Regions from separate parts of the Homo sapiens genome. Here all the other regions are linked to region 1. The links are contacts of gene promoters, found by promoter capture Hi-C in blood cells and fetal thymus (Javierre and others, 2016). All regions are on one chromosome and are shown on one strand. Each heading gives the region's core, a stretch centred on a gene start or on the middle of the fragment in contact. The rest is flanking DNA. Distances are from core to core; before and after follow the strand shown. Region 1 holds the start of TBC1D15 (TBC1 domain family member 15). Region 2 overlaps PRANCR (progenitor renewal associated non-coding RNA). Region 3 overlaps CNOT2 (CCR4-NOT transcription complex subunit 2). Region 4 overlaps CNOT2 (CCR4-NOT transcription complex subunit 2). Region 5 overlaps KCNMB4 (potassium calcium-activated channel subfamily M regulatory beta subunit 4).

Region 1 (2,729 bases), core at 110-2,609:
AGTCACATAACCGGCAACTCTCCTTTTCTGTCGTTCAGCTAGTTGCCACCTACCTCAACCAAACTCAAAAGCCTCTAACCCCTCTCCACTGTGTGAAGACGGAAGTACCTCAATGGACACAAGTGTTTTTGGTGAAAGGGACTTTTTATTCTGCCCCGGAGCTAGGGAAATCCCAGATCTGTGCCAGAGTTATCAAGGGGGTAGTATATAATCATTCTCTGCATTCTTTTACAGCACTGAGAACAAGTAAAATTCTTACCTTAGTATCTTTACAAATCATTTTACCACACATGTATTGTCGTATGAAATCCCTACAACCACTCCATGCAGGAGTAATTCCCAGTTTACATCCTGAAGCTCTGATAAATTTAGAAACCTGCTTTAAGTCACAGAGCTAATAAGTAATGTGTAGGTGCTATAAACTATGTGCCTTGGGCTCTGCAGCTATGAGGGCGTGGTATTATCACAGTTCCTATCGAAATACCTTGCTGGAGGTCATGTGTGAGTGGCAGTGACCAGACAAATAGAGAAACCTCATATACAGAGGGGAAAAGTCTCCATGTATAGTGCCTGGGATATCTCCATGTTAGTGCTGCTCTTTCTTGGATCTTCACCGCAACGCCACTATCTTGATTTTACTATAAGAAACTGAGGTTTCGAGTGCACTGGTGATTTGCCTACTGCCACAAAACCAGGCTAATGGGCTGGGCGCGGTGGCTCAAGCCTGTAATCCCAGCTCTCTGGGCAAAGGCTGAAGCGGACGGATCACCTGAAGTCAGGAGTTCGAGACCAGCCTGGGCAACATTGGCGAAATCTCGTCTCTAATAAAAATTTAAAAATTAGCTGGGCGTTTGACGCGCGCCTGTAATCCCAGCTACCCGGGAGGCTGAGGCTTGAGAATCGCTTGAACCGAGTGGCGGAGGCTGCAATGAGCCGAGATCGCGCCACTGCACTCCAGCCTGAGCGACAGAGCGAGACTCCTTTTCTACAACAACAACAAAAAACCAGGACAAATCTTGCTGGCTTCCAGTATGGTATTCGTTTCATCTCACCAAACTGGCGTGGCCTGCGCTAGCTTCAGAGTCTCGACAAACTCCAATACAAGTAAGGTACACATTATTTTAGCAGTCTTCCTTGGGGAGGACGTGGGGCAAGCACAAGCGTAGCGTTAGGCCTGAGACTCCACCCCAGCCGTCTCTGAGCCCAGTTCAGCACGCACGCGTCAGGCGGCTTTTTTCCGCCCGGCTCCTTTCCTCCACTCCCTTCCCGCCACTCCCCGCCCTTTTCCCGCCCGGATGTTATTCTAGTTTTGCCGGATGTTGTTGTATGTCCGAGAGACACGTGAGGTTCTGCTACGTCATTACCAGGCACGCGCAGGAAACATGGCGGCGGCGGGTGTTGTGAGCGGGAAGGTAGGTAACGGCCTCCAGGAAGACCTCGGCTTTTCTCTGGGACGGGGATGCTTTTGCTCCCTGGCAGCTGGTTGGGGGAGGGACACGAGGGACTTTCTGTGTCCGGACAACCCGTGGCGTCTGTAGGAGAAGACTGGGTGGTACCAGCTGGTTTCCCGAGAATGCCAGTTCAGCCGCGGAGTTATAGAGCCGGCTACTGCTCCAAGGCCAGCTAGGCCTCGGCGCTCTTCTGCCCCAGAGCAGAGAGGCTTTTATTCGTATTACCTTTACTAAGGGACAGGTGGCTCTCTAGTTCCTTTTTTCCCCCGATTCACTGTTTCTTGACTCTAGTTCTTTATGTCTACTCTTCTGACTCCAGCGTCTTTTCTCTCTTTGAAGCGTTAACCCGACTTGCCTCTGTCTTCTTTGCTACAGTTTGGTGAAGATGTTTATGCTTCCTTCGGGAGGAGCTGAATAGATGCTAGGCAGCTAGCTGTGCGCTTAGAAGAAACGAGTGTATTGGGTCTGTTTTTACCAAGCTGCTGAGTTGGTTGGTGGTTGTGAGCAGCAGGACGTGTTTCCTGAGAGAAATGGAGATTTACACCATCCTGTGCTTGTCTAGGAAGGCGTCCAAATATTTATTTCCTAGGCATTTCAGTAGGAGTATTGGTCATGCTGGTTTACGGAGGTGGTCAGTGACACGCCTAATTTCGTTGGAAACTAGAATTACGTGCGGAGATTTCGTCGAATAGTGCCTATTCGCGTTCCGAGGGCACATCTTATGCATAGTTAGGGCTATCAGCTTTATGATATGCCACCGATAGTATTTCCCAGTGCAGGAGTATTTCATAAACAGCTGGAATCAACTGAAGTGACTCATCGAACACTAATGGTTGTTTACTCATTGCAGATAGCGTCCTCTGTTCCTTGAGTTTCACTCATGTCTCCCTGTTGCTTTCCCTACCCCATTTTGAATTATTTGACAGCGTTTGTGGTTTGGTGTTTGGAGTATTAGACTAGGCGGCTGAATGACAAATATGGGCTTGGTTTTGCTGTTAATCTGAAGTATGACCTTGGAAAATTGGGCAATTGTGACTTTTGTCTTTTCGCGTTCTTTATCTGTAGAATGGAGGAGATGCCAATCATTATTTCTTGTATTGGAGTTGTTAGGGTTATATAAATTTTTTTTTAAAAAAACATAAAATTACACACTTGTACCTACTGGCTCTTTTAAAGGATAGGTGGGCATCCTTTTTTGGATTATTCGTGCTCCTTGGTTGTCTTGTCAGTTTTTTTCTTTTTATATTCAGGGTGGATGCTGATATACTGCTTGACTTA
Region 2 (2,729 bases), core at 60-2,559, 1.6 Mb before region 1:
GGAGTTGGAGACTGCAGTGAGCTCTGATTGCGCCACACTGTACTCTAGCCTGGGTGACAGAGTGAGACCCTGTCTCAAAAACATACGGGGAAAAAAAAAAAAAGAAGAAGAAAAAAAAGTAACAAACAAATTTGGCAATAATGAAACCTCTTAATTCAGAGCATTACAATGAAATCCTTTGCTTTTTAACAGAATACTTACCAGTATCTTATGGAACTAGTGTACTGAGGAATCTAGTTTAGAACCTTCCTTTCCTTTTACTTTTTCCTTTCCTTTTTCCTTTCCCTTTTCCTTTTTTTCTTCCTTCCTTTTTCCTTCCTCTCTCCCTCCTTCATTCCCTTTTTGTAATTTTTGTTTCTATAAGGAACTAGGCAAAGCCAAGTAAATTCTTTAACTTAATTAAAGAAGTGTAATAGCTCTCTTTTGCTCCCACTCCACCATGTTGAGATGCCTGCTCACCCTTCACCTTCCACCATGATTGTAAGCTTCCTGAAGCCCTCATTAGAAGTCAGGCAGATTCTGGTACCATGCTTCCTGTACAGCCTGCAGAACTGTGATCCAATTAAATCTTTTTTTCTTATAAATTAAAAAAAAGTATAATAAATATGTCTGTTGTTGTTGGTTCATTCAAAACAGATTTTCTCTTCCCTCTGCTCTATTGTAAGTGGTGTTGTTTTTAATAAGATTCTAAGATTCCCTAGCTTTTAGCAAGAAGAGATGTTTTCAGGATAAGGCTTTCAAAAAGGTCTTCCTTACTAAGTATTTAGAAGTCCTGTGTTTTACGGTATCTTTTTGTGCTACATTATCACCTGTTTCTTCAGTGGCAGCTGCTGAGTTTGTAAAAGATCAATTGGCTGTTTCTCTGGATTTTGCCATTTAACTATTACATGCTCGCTTATATGGGTTATGCTTATGAAGAGTTGTTTCCTAATTGCAGGCTGCTTCATTAGAAGGAAAAGAAGAGGTTTTGGGATAATATTCCTCCAGAATCACCTTCACCAAAGTTATGGCAGCTGTAGCAACTTTTATAATCTAGAATCTAATGGAAACTAATCTTACTCTTACTGAGGAAGTACAATAAGTGTTTTATAAAATATGGTGTTTACCTCTACATTAGGCAGTGTTTTTAAAAATCTTAATTAACACTATCAATTCTAACTACTTCAGAGTTGGACATCATATTAAAAATGTAAGGTTGTTTAAGAACTGTTGTAAATATCTGGTAACTATCTTCTTCTAAACAATGTCTTTAAAAAGTGGTGCGTCTTTTAAAACCCTCTTAGTAATTGTGAAAGGGATGCCATTACATAAACTCAAGATTAGTTAACATGTTTATTTTTTAAAGTGACTTAAAAACATATTTTTATGGCAGGAAAATAAAACATGATCACTAGTTGACGCTATAAAATGTAATCATTTAGGGATATGTTTTACGTCCCCACCTTACCTGATTTTAGTTCTCAACAGAAAATATTTAACTCAACTAGCTAGCACATTTATATTTCTGTTGTTGTTTTTTTACATGGCTGTCTATATAGTCTATTATTTTCTTGCATTTTCCTTTTCAGGTGCCTCATTAGTAATTTTATTAAAAATTCTTAGATTACGTGTGGTTTTCCACATAAAACTATTATCATCATCATCGCAACTATTTGAGTGGTTGGTTCATTCCATACACTATACTAAGCATTTGCATATGTCGTCTGATGAAATTTTTTTTTTTTTTTGAGATGGAGTCTCGCTCTGTCATCCATGCTGGAGTGCAGTGGCGCAATCTCGGCTCACCGCAAGCTCCACCTCCCGGGTTCATGCCATTCTCCTGCCTTAGCCTCGAGTAGCTGGGACTACAGGCGCCCACCACCACGCCGGGCTAAGTTTTTTGTATTTTTAGTAGAGATGGGGTTTCACCGTATTAGCCAGGATGGTCTCGATCTCCTGACCTCGTGATCTGCTCGCCCCGACCTCCCAAAGTGCTGAGATTACAGGCGTGAGCCACCGCGCCTGGCCCATCCGATAAAATTTTTATGACAATCCTGAAAGGCATAGTCATATTTTTATGCTCGAATTTTAGGCAGCAAAACTGAGGTTTGTAGAAGTAATTTTTAAAATACTGCATTTTTTTCAAAGGGCACTGAAGCTTGCATGTGTTTCGGTTAGATAAAATTGCAGATCTTAGCTATTCAAAACCCTTACGCTCATAATCTTGCTTCTTAAATCCCTAGTGGCCCACTAACATATTCTTTAGTATTTGTGAGTTCTCACAAAAAATCTTTAGTTTTGTAGCTTTATTTCAAAGGTAATCTAAAAGTTAACATAACTCTGTTTTGGATTAAAAAAACACCATTATATAAATAAATACTTCGACTTGAGTGCCCATGTTTTTGTTTGCTTATAATGGAGTTGGAGCCAGACTATCTAACTTAAAATTGCCCTGGACTACAGTAAAGAGTAAGTTAATTAATGATCCATTTATGCCAGGTAAAGGTCAAATACTGTAATTGCTTGCTTCTGGTATAAAGGTTTCAAAAAAATCGTAAGAGAAAACTGTTAGGAAAATTGAGTTATCACATAGCAACATAGGTATCTCAAATTCAAATAAATCTGTGCTCTATTTCCAGTGATGATTTAGGCTTAACAAAAAACTTACACATTAATGTTAACTTAAAATATTTTAGTTTTATTTCATTCCTAATTTTTTTCTAGTTTAATAGTTAAAATAGAGCTAAAAA
Region 3 (2,729 bases), core at 67-2,566, 1.6 Mb before region 1:
TGTCTATTTAGTTCACTTTTGACTGAGTAAAATGGAGCTGATCTATCTGCTATTAAAGAGAGTTATATTCTGAAATTTTACATGATGTTCATAATGCCTGGAACTAACCAGCCTGAAATGGAATCACCGTTGTACTGTTTTCAATTGGCTAGGTGACTTATTCTCCCTATACTTCAGTTTTCTCATTTGAAAAATGTAGATAAAAATAAATAAATAAAAACAAAGAAAAATGTAGATAAATAACAATACTTACCCAGTAGAACTGATGTAAGGATTAAAGTTTTTTGTGGGTTTTTTGTTCGTGTTCGTTTTGGAGTGGGACTTGTTAGGTTAAAGAGGAGCTTCTGGGGTATACAAGAATTAGCCACAATTTATTTCATAGAGTGCACTATACTCTTTTTTGTATCAGATTCGTAAATGTAAACAAGAATGCAGTCTTGCTCTTAGAGTCTAAACATGTTTTTCCTACCAGGAATTTTGTTTAGATGACCTTCTGTGAAGTAAGATGTGTAATATTTTGAGTAACATAAATAAATCGTCATATTGCTCTGTCTGTAGTACTTGGCAAAGCACAGGGCACATAATAGGCATTTAATAATTCCTGTGTTAAGTGGGATAAATCTAATGGGTTAGGATTCAGACAGACTGGTGTCTACCTTTTTCAACCTGAATAGTGCAGAGTTAGTTACCTGTAGTAGTTTTTTCTTCTGTGCCTGTTTTCTTCCTTAAAATTAATAAAATATTTTCTTCCCTTAAGTGTATTTAGTAGGTTTAAATATGACCCTGTAAAACTCCTGACAAGTAGGTATTTACTGTTGTTGGTTCCCATGCCATTTCCTTTATTTAGAGCAAAAATTGCAAAAATCCTGGAAGTTCAGAAGAAACACTTAGCACCTTTTATTTATTTTTTTGAAAGTTGAGAAATGTACCATTGAGTACGTGCTCATCTTTAATGAAGAGATAATATATTATTTTGGAAAGACTTCACACTTTGATTCAGATGATGGGTTCCAGTCTGGGCTCTATAAACTTACTAGCTGTGTGCCTGGACAAATCAATTAGTATTGAAGAGCCTCAGCTGTTTGATAATTTATACCTCCCAGTGTTGCTGATGGCAACTCAGATAATGAAAGAAAAAGTGTTTAACTGTAGAGCATGTCAAAGTATCATGATAATTATTCCTGATTATTAGTTACTGTAGTGAAACTAGTATAGTAGTTTCCCCTTAATTCAAGGGGAAATATGTTCTGAGACCCCAGTGGATGCCTGAAACTACAGATAGCACTGAACCTTATATGTACTGTTCCCCCCTATACATACATACCTATGATAAAGTTTAACTTGCACATTAGGTACAATAAGAGATGAGCAACAATAGCTAATAATAAAATAGGCCAGGCGCAGTGGCTCACGCCTGTAGTCCCAACACTTTGGGAGACCAAGGCGGGCAGATCACGAGGTCAGGAGATTGAGACCATCCTGGCTAGCACGATGAAACCCCGCCTCTACTAAAAAATACAAAAATTAGCCGGGAGTGGTGGCACGCGCCTGTAGTCCTAGCTACTCAGGAGGCGGAGGCAGGAGAATCGCTTGAACCCGGGAGGTGGAGTTTGCAGTGAGCCGAGATCACGCCACTGCACTCCAGCCTGGGGGACAGAGCGAGACTCTGTCTCAAAAAAAAAAAAAAAAGAACAATTATATAATATAAAAAAGTTAAATGAATGTGATCTCTCTCTCAAAACACCTCTTGTACTGTACTTCTTGTGATCTGTCAGTCTGATAATCAAGATAGTTACTAATGTGAATAAGGGGTGGGTAGCATATGTAGCAAGGATATCATGTCCCAGGTGGGATGGAGCGGGATGTCAGAAAATTTCATCACACTCCTCAGACTGGTGCCCAATTTAAAACGTATGAATTATTTATTTCTGGAATTTTCCATGTAATATTTTTGTACTGCGGTTCACCATGAATAACTGAAACTGAAGAAGAAGAAACCGCGGATAAGGGGAGAACTACTGTAGTTTCTTAAGTTGTATGATTGAATGATTCATTCATTTTTACCTGGTGATGCTGCTGCATTTGGGTGCTTTGCCCTTTATGCATTTTTATTTAAATAGATATCTGGTTTATTAGGCTAGGCGCAGTAGCTCATGCCTGTAATCCCAGCACTTTGGGAGGCCGAGGCGGGTGGATTGTAAGTTTTAGGAGTTCAAGATCAGCCTGGCCAACATGGAAAACCCTGTCTCTACTAAAAATACAAAAAATTAGCCAGGCATGGTGGCACGTGTCTCTAATCCGAGATGCTTGGGAGGCTGTGGCAGGAGAATCGCTTGAACCTGGGAGGCGGAGGTTGCAGTGAGTTGACATCATGCCAGTGTACACCAGCCTGGGTGACAGAGCAAGACTGCATCTCAAAAAAAAAAAAAAAAAAGAAGAAGAAGAAAAAAAGAAAACTGGCTTATTGGACTTTGGGAGGGGAGTTTGGAGAGATTGTGGGAGTGGTAAAAAAAGATTCTGCTATGTTCATCGGAGCAGGCCAGTTAATTGAGTATTTTTGCATGCTGAGGTCCTGATGCTTTCTCTATGTATCTATAGCAGGAAATTTACTTCATCTTAACTCCTGCTTCATTAGGGTAAAATATCATGATAATCTTTGGGGTATTCCCATTTTTGTAACTGTATTTGTGTCCTTTCTCTTTATCATTGTTAGCCAAGTGTATTTTTTG
Region 4 (2,729 bases), core at 93-2,592, 1.5 Mb before region 1:
ACCTGACACCTTTGCTTTCTGATGGTTCAGTGTACAGTGTAAACAAACCTTATTTTCTGCACAAAATATTAGTAACATTGTATAAAATTACCCTCAGGGTATGTGAATAAGGTATATATAAAACATAAATGAATTTCATGGTTAGACTTGGGTCCCATCCCCAAGATACCTCATTTTATATGTATAAATATTCCAAAATCCAAACACTTCTGTTCCCAGAATAAGCAAAATCTCAGATAAGAGATACTCAACATGTAGGTAAGAGAAAGCTGACATTTCATGAGAATTTGAGAAAACACCTCTGCAGTGTGTGTTTCTCTACATAACTAGATCAGTGATTACATTAATGTTTTTGTAATATTATTTGACTATATGAATCCATTGCATTCAGTTTTGCTTGAATTGAACAAGTAACCTTTGGAGAATACATAGCCTAATTTTATTAATAGAAGAACTAAGGTATGAAAAAGTTGTCTAAAAAGTATTTGGAACTCTTTCTAGCCTTTGCAATCATATTATAATCTAGAAATCCTTTTTTTTCCACTAAAAGCAAATATATACATAGACCCTCTAATGTATCATTTGATAATATTAGAAAAATTAAATGTTTTGTTCCTAAAACAAAGGAAGAAAGCTTGTGTTTATTCATCATATATTAATTACACATCCATTAGGGGCTTGGCACTATTCCAAGTTGTAGGTAGTAGTATACAAAGTAGATAGACACTTGCTCCTACAGAATGTATGAGGTTGTGCATGTGTGTAGTATGTGTGTGTATATATAACAAACATGTAAATGGTGTTACCAGTAATCAAAGTAACTTATGTATTTTAAGAAGAATAAAAGTACGTGGAAAACAAGATTTTAAAACGTGGAAGGCAAAATTTTACCTATGTAATTTCTAAATCTCTGATCTCTATATCAAAATTTCTAAATCTCTATATCAAAATTATTTACGCTGCTTAGGTTTAAACTATATTTTTCTGGGGGAAAATGTACATTGATAAAGTTAATCTAGTTTGAATTCCTAGTCATACATTGTAGTTCATCAATGTGAAAAATTTTAGTTAACTTACTCAGTATAACTTACCACTTTGTGGAAGTTACAATTAGACTTTTTTTCCCTGTAACTACACATTTTGAAAACAAAAATGCCAATTTTAATTTCAGAAGAATGATAACAAATTTTCTTCACGAATTCAGATAGTCAACTTGAACCAAGCAATAAAATTATTTTAATTCCTAGCTAGGGCTGGGAGAGGGGGAGTAGTGCTACACAGTGTATTAGGGCAGGATGTCATGGTTGTGGTGGTGATTCTGGTGTTTGCTAATTTTTACTGATAAGCAAATAACCTCTGTGTCTTAATTACTGTACCAGTCACATGAAGGCAACCTTTTCAGGCTAAAGTCACCATGGTGTACCTTCTTTATAAACTCTCAGGGGACTGATTTTTTTTTTCCTTTTTCTTCACCTTATACCAAGAGAGAAGGGGACTGAATTCTTTCAGCATTTCTGGATTGCCTTGTAATGAAGTAAATGAATCTGTTTTGGATCTTGGACTAAAAATATTAAAAATAATGTGTTACACTACAAAAGACACAGGCTTTTTGTCACATGGAGGCTTTTTGTCACATGGGTCTGGATCCTAATGCTAGGTGTGCCGCTTACTGATGACTTGTCCAAGTTACTTGTAAGCCTCATTTTCTTCAGGTACAAAATGAAAATAATGATATCTGCTTTACAGAATTATTACAAAGATTAGAATAAAATTAGCTGTATCTCTAATTTTAGCACATACTAGGCTTTCAATAAATTCTGCTGTTAGGTCTGTAATATCTTTAAATTTATTTAAGTGTAATATCTTTAAATTTTAAATACTTGGTGTTCCATCTTAAAATTTGGTCATTATAGTCTAGGTTTTCATTTTAATTTAATAATGGAAATACTCATCATGGAATCAGTTTGAAACCAGACAGATAAGGTAAAATATGTTAACCCATGGTAGCTAATGTCACTTGTTGCCTTAATCTTTAATACATAATACATATTAAGCTTCATAATTCTTTAAGTTGGATTATGCAGTAATTTGTGCTAATTCAGATGGTAGAATTGGTAAGAGGCTTTTAGAGCCTCTTGCTTATTGGGGTTGCAGAGGTATTTGTTGTTTGCATTTTTTTCTAATATACATAGCTATTCTGCATCTCTATTCTTGATCTTGGGTGGGAAGTATCATGAAGAAATTATGTCACCATTCTTAAATTTTAAAACTCATGAAGTTAATACAGTATTTTGAAAGTTTGATTAAAGTGAGCTGCTATCTAGTTTTCAAATGTTCCTACAGCAGAACCATTGTCTAGTTTTCGGTGGCAGTTGATTTATATTTGAGTCAGGGTTTTGGGTTTGTGAAATGCAAGTCTAGTGATGTGTGAGTTTTAAGTTCATTATTTTCCCCAGATTTTAATGAGGTTAGAATAATTTTATGTGTTTTCCTTTTTTTTTTTTTTTTAGACGGAGTCTTGCTTTGTCATCTGGGCTGGAGTGCAGTGGTGCAATCTTGGCTCACTGCAACCTCCACCTGCCAGGTTCAAGCGATTCTCCTGCCTCAGCCTCCTGAGTAGCTGCTACTACAGGCGTGCACCACTACGCCCAGCTAATTTTTGTATTTTTAGTACAGACGGGGTTTCACCATGTTGATTGGTAAAGATGGTCTTGATCTCCTGACCTCGT
Region 5 (2,729 bases), core at 129-2,628, 1.5 Mb before region 1:
TTTTCAGGCAGTTTGAAGTATCTGGCAGAAAAAGTAAATTGAAATCATTGGGACGTTGATTTTTAAATTACCTAGAAGCAATCCCAATGCTTTATGTAATACTAAAATTTCTCCTCTCTCTTTTCTTTATCTCTCTCTCCCCTGAAAATAATCATTTTTTTTCCAGTGCCAGTTCAGATCTTGGCAACAGTTGTTTTGAAAAAGTACCTGAACAAAATACATTTTATAAAGTAAAGTATTCAGGAACTGACAGAACTGGAGAAGAATATATTTATGTTACAGAAGTCATGGACAACATCCTATTCATTTTAGTCAAGGTTTTCTCAGCCAAACCAATTTATATCTCTTTATCCAGATTATAATTATGTTGTATCATTTATAGACTGTAAGTTTGTTCTTTAGCATCACCTTTCTATTTTTGACCAATAAATTCTCAATTTGGAAATTCTTATAGGCAGTGTGATGGAAAAATTCAATGTAATAAAAATATTATGCCAGAGTCATGTACATAAGCAGAGTGTTTCCACAGTGTCCCTGCAATTAGGCAATACCCATTGTCCATTCCTGTTGGCTCTTGGCTGCCTAGATCTTTTCTTTGCCTTACTTTACCTCTTTATTGAAGGCCTATGCTTCCCCTCTGTTTCTTTGTAGAATGTCTAGATTCCCAACAGTGTCTTGAATCCCAGCCGCCTCCAGGCTTTTCTTCATGACCCACCAACACAAGAAACCACTTAGGAAATCACTTCTTAGAAAAAATAGAATAAGGAGTTTTTTCCTCTCCCTTGAGTTTCCTGCATTAATTACAGTAAGAGGCAGGAGAGGGAAAGAATACATTGCAAATACAGAATTTCTTAAGCCATAAGCTGCTGAAGAAGATACTGTGAGTAAATTTGATCTTTGACTAATAATTTCTTTAAAATACCTTGAGTTCCTACTGAATTTATTTGTATTTTGAATCATATCCTTATTGTCTAAAGCAATCACTATATCCAGTCTTGTAATAGAGTATTCAAGGCAACAAATTGTCCACAGGGAGATTATCTCTGTGGATTAACCATAGCAAAATCTAAATTCGGGGTCAACTTCCTCTTGCTACTATTCCAGTCACTGCACTATCTCTTGGTGACTCACAGTTGTATATGCTAGGAGCTTTGGTTCTCACCTATGGCTGTACCTTAGAATCACCAGGGGAACTTTAAAAAGAAGTTCTTATGGCTGGGTCCAACTCTCCAAGATTCTGATTTGGTCTTGGGTGGGGCCTGGGCATTGATGTTTTTTAAAAGTTCTGTGATGATTCTAATGTGAAGACAAGATTCAAAAACCACTGTCTTAGAAAATGTTCTCATCTGCTGTGCAAGAAAAACAACCTGAGAACCAAAAAGGAGTCATTGTGATTAATATTTGTGTTTTCAGATTAAAAGATATTGTTGGTGCTACTGAATTTTTTGTTTTTTTTTGTTTTTTTGTTTTTTTTTTGAGACAGAGTCTCGCTCTGTCGCCCAGGCTGGAGTGCATTGGCATGATCTCGGCTCACTGCAAGCTCCGCCTCCCTGGTTCATGCCATTCTCCTGCCTCAGCCTCCCGAGTAGCTGGGACTACAGGCGCCCACCACCACGCCTGGCTAATTTTTTCTATTTTTAGTGAGATGAGGTTTCACCATGTTAGCCAGGATGGTCTCGATCTCCTGACCTCGTGATCCACCCCTGCCTTGGCCTCCCAAAGGGCTGGGATTACAGGCATGAGCCACCGCGCCCGGCCAGTGCTACTGAATTTAGGGAGTCGGTATAAAAGGAAATTCTGAAGGAAAGGGAGAGTATTATTTAAAATTATTATGTAAATAATAGTTTAAAACCAATAAGTTTAAATGAAATGAACTTGATTCCAGACATTTGCATTTGCATAATTATATACATTGGATGGCCAAAAAAAAAAAAAGGTGAGTTTTTAAAACTGCCCTCTTGTATGTGAGACAAGACAGAGTGAGTGATTAGAGATAATATGGTTATTTCATTTATTTATTTATTTATTTTTGAGTCTCATTCTGTTGTCCAGGCTGGAGTGCAGTGGCATGATCTCAGCTCACTGCAACTTCCGCCTCCTGGGTTCAAGCAATTCCCCTGCATCAGCCACCCAAGTAGCTGGGCTTACGGGCATGTGCTACCACACCCAGCTAATTTTTGTATATTTAGTAGAGACAGGGTTTCACTATGTTGGCCAGGCGGGTCTCCAACTCCTGGCCTCAAGTGATCCCCCTGCCTCAGCCTCCCAAAGTGCTGGGATTACAGGCGTGAGCCAACACGCCCGGTCTATATGTTTATTTTTATTTTGAGTTTTTTTTTCCCCTTCCTCTAATAATAAAAACCTAGAAACAAAGGATAAAAGGCTCCTTCTAAGAAACCAGTACTCTAGAAGTGAGAGAAATGCATTAAGGAGAAGAAAAACTTAGGTGGGACTGAATAAGGCTTCAGGCATTACGTTTGCTGAAGTTGGATGTACCTAACTACAGGGCGTGGTGGCTCACAGTCACCTAGGCCCTCTCCACATCCACTCATGTACCCTGTCCCAGTGCACTGTAGGAGAGGCAGTGTGGCCTGCCTGGAATTGTTTCTGAACTCCTTCCTGGAACATTCAGTTTGATACATTTTGCGCTCTAGAGACATCCATCATATCAGAACTACATGATAAAAGGCTAAGCAGAATTGTGATGACTTCTTTGTAACCTTTATTTA

The links. Contacts are between HindIII fragments. The CHiCAGO score rates a contact against its expected background, and 5 or more counts as called.
Region 2: a fragment that was not itself captured here is called in contact with the fragment with the promoter of TBC1D15 in region 1 in 1 of 17 cell types (activated CD4 T cells); the score reaches 5.6 in activated CD4 T cells.
Region 3: a fragment that was not itself captured here is called in contact with the fragment with the promoter of TBC1D15 in region 1 in 1 of 17 cell types (naive CD8 T cells); the score reaches 6.8 in naive CD8 T cells.
Region 4: a contact is called between a fragment that was not itself captured here and the fragment with the promoter of TBC1D15 in region 1, in 1 of 17 cell types (non-activated CD4 T cells). The highest score is 5.1, in non-activated CD4 T cells.
Region 5: a fragment that was not itself captured here is called in contact with the fragment with the promoter of TBC1D15 in region 1 in 4 of 17 cell types (total CD4 T cells, total B cells, non-activated CD4 T cells and 1 more); the score reaches 6.0 in total CD4 T cells.

The regions. Positions count from the first base shown.
Region 1 is chr12:71,838,400-71,841,128 of GRCh38, forward strand. It overlaps TBC1D15 (TBC1 domain family member 15), which reads left to right and starts at 1,360. Exons shown (of 17, transcript NM_001146213.3): 1 at 1,360-1,412. The coding sequence starts at 1,383. The HindIII fragment of the contact is 6,842 bases long and covers 1-2,729 here.
Region 2 is chr12:70,231,111-70,233,839 of GRCh38, forward strand. The region is part of intron 3 of PRANCR (progenitor renewal associated non-coding RNA); the gene reads right to left. Among named protein-coding and RNA genes, the nearest start is that of PRANCR, 11 kb to the right of the region's middle. The HindIII fragment of the contact is 1,652 bases long and covers 484-2,135 here.
Region 3 is chr12:70,252,565-70,255,293 of GRCh38, forward strand. The region is part of intron 1 of CNOT2 (CCR4-NOT transcription complex subunit 2); the gene reads left to right. Among named protein-coding and RNA genes, the nearest start is that of CNOT2, 10 kb to the left of the region's middle. The HindIII fragment of the contact is 4,496 bases long and covers 1-2,729 here.
Region 4 is chr12:70,350,584-70,353,312 of GRCh38, forward strand. The region is part of intron 15 of CNOT2 (CCR4-NOT transcription complex subunit 2); the gene reads left to right. Among named protein-coding and RNA genes, the nearest start is that of KCNMB4, 14 kb to the right of the region's middle. RefSeq lists a silencer at 1,452-1,652. The HindIII fragment of the contact is 1,420 bases long and covers 633-2,052 here.
Region 5 is chr12:70,368,850-70,371,578 of GRCh38, forward strand. All of the region lies in intron 1 of KCNMB4 (potassium calcium-activated channel subfamily M regulatory beta subunit 4), which reads left to right. Among named protein-coding and RNA genes, the nearest start is that of KCNMB4, 3.9 kb to the left of the region's middle. RefSeq lists a silencer at 996-1,196. The HindIII fragment of the contact is 5,253 bases long and covers 1-2,729 here.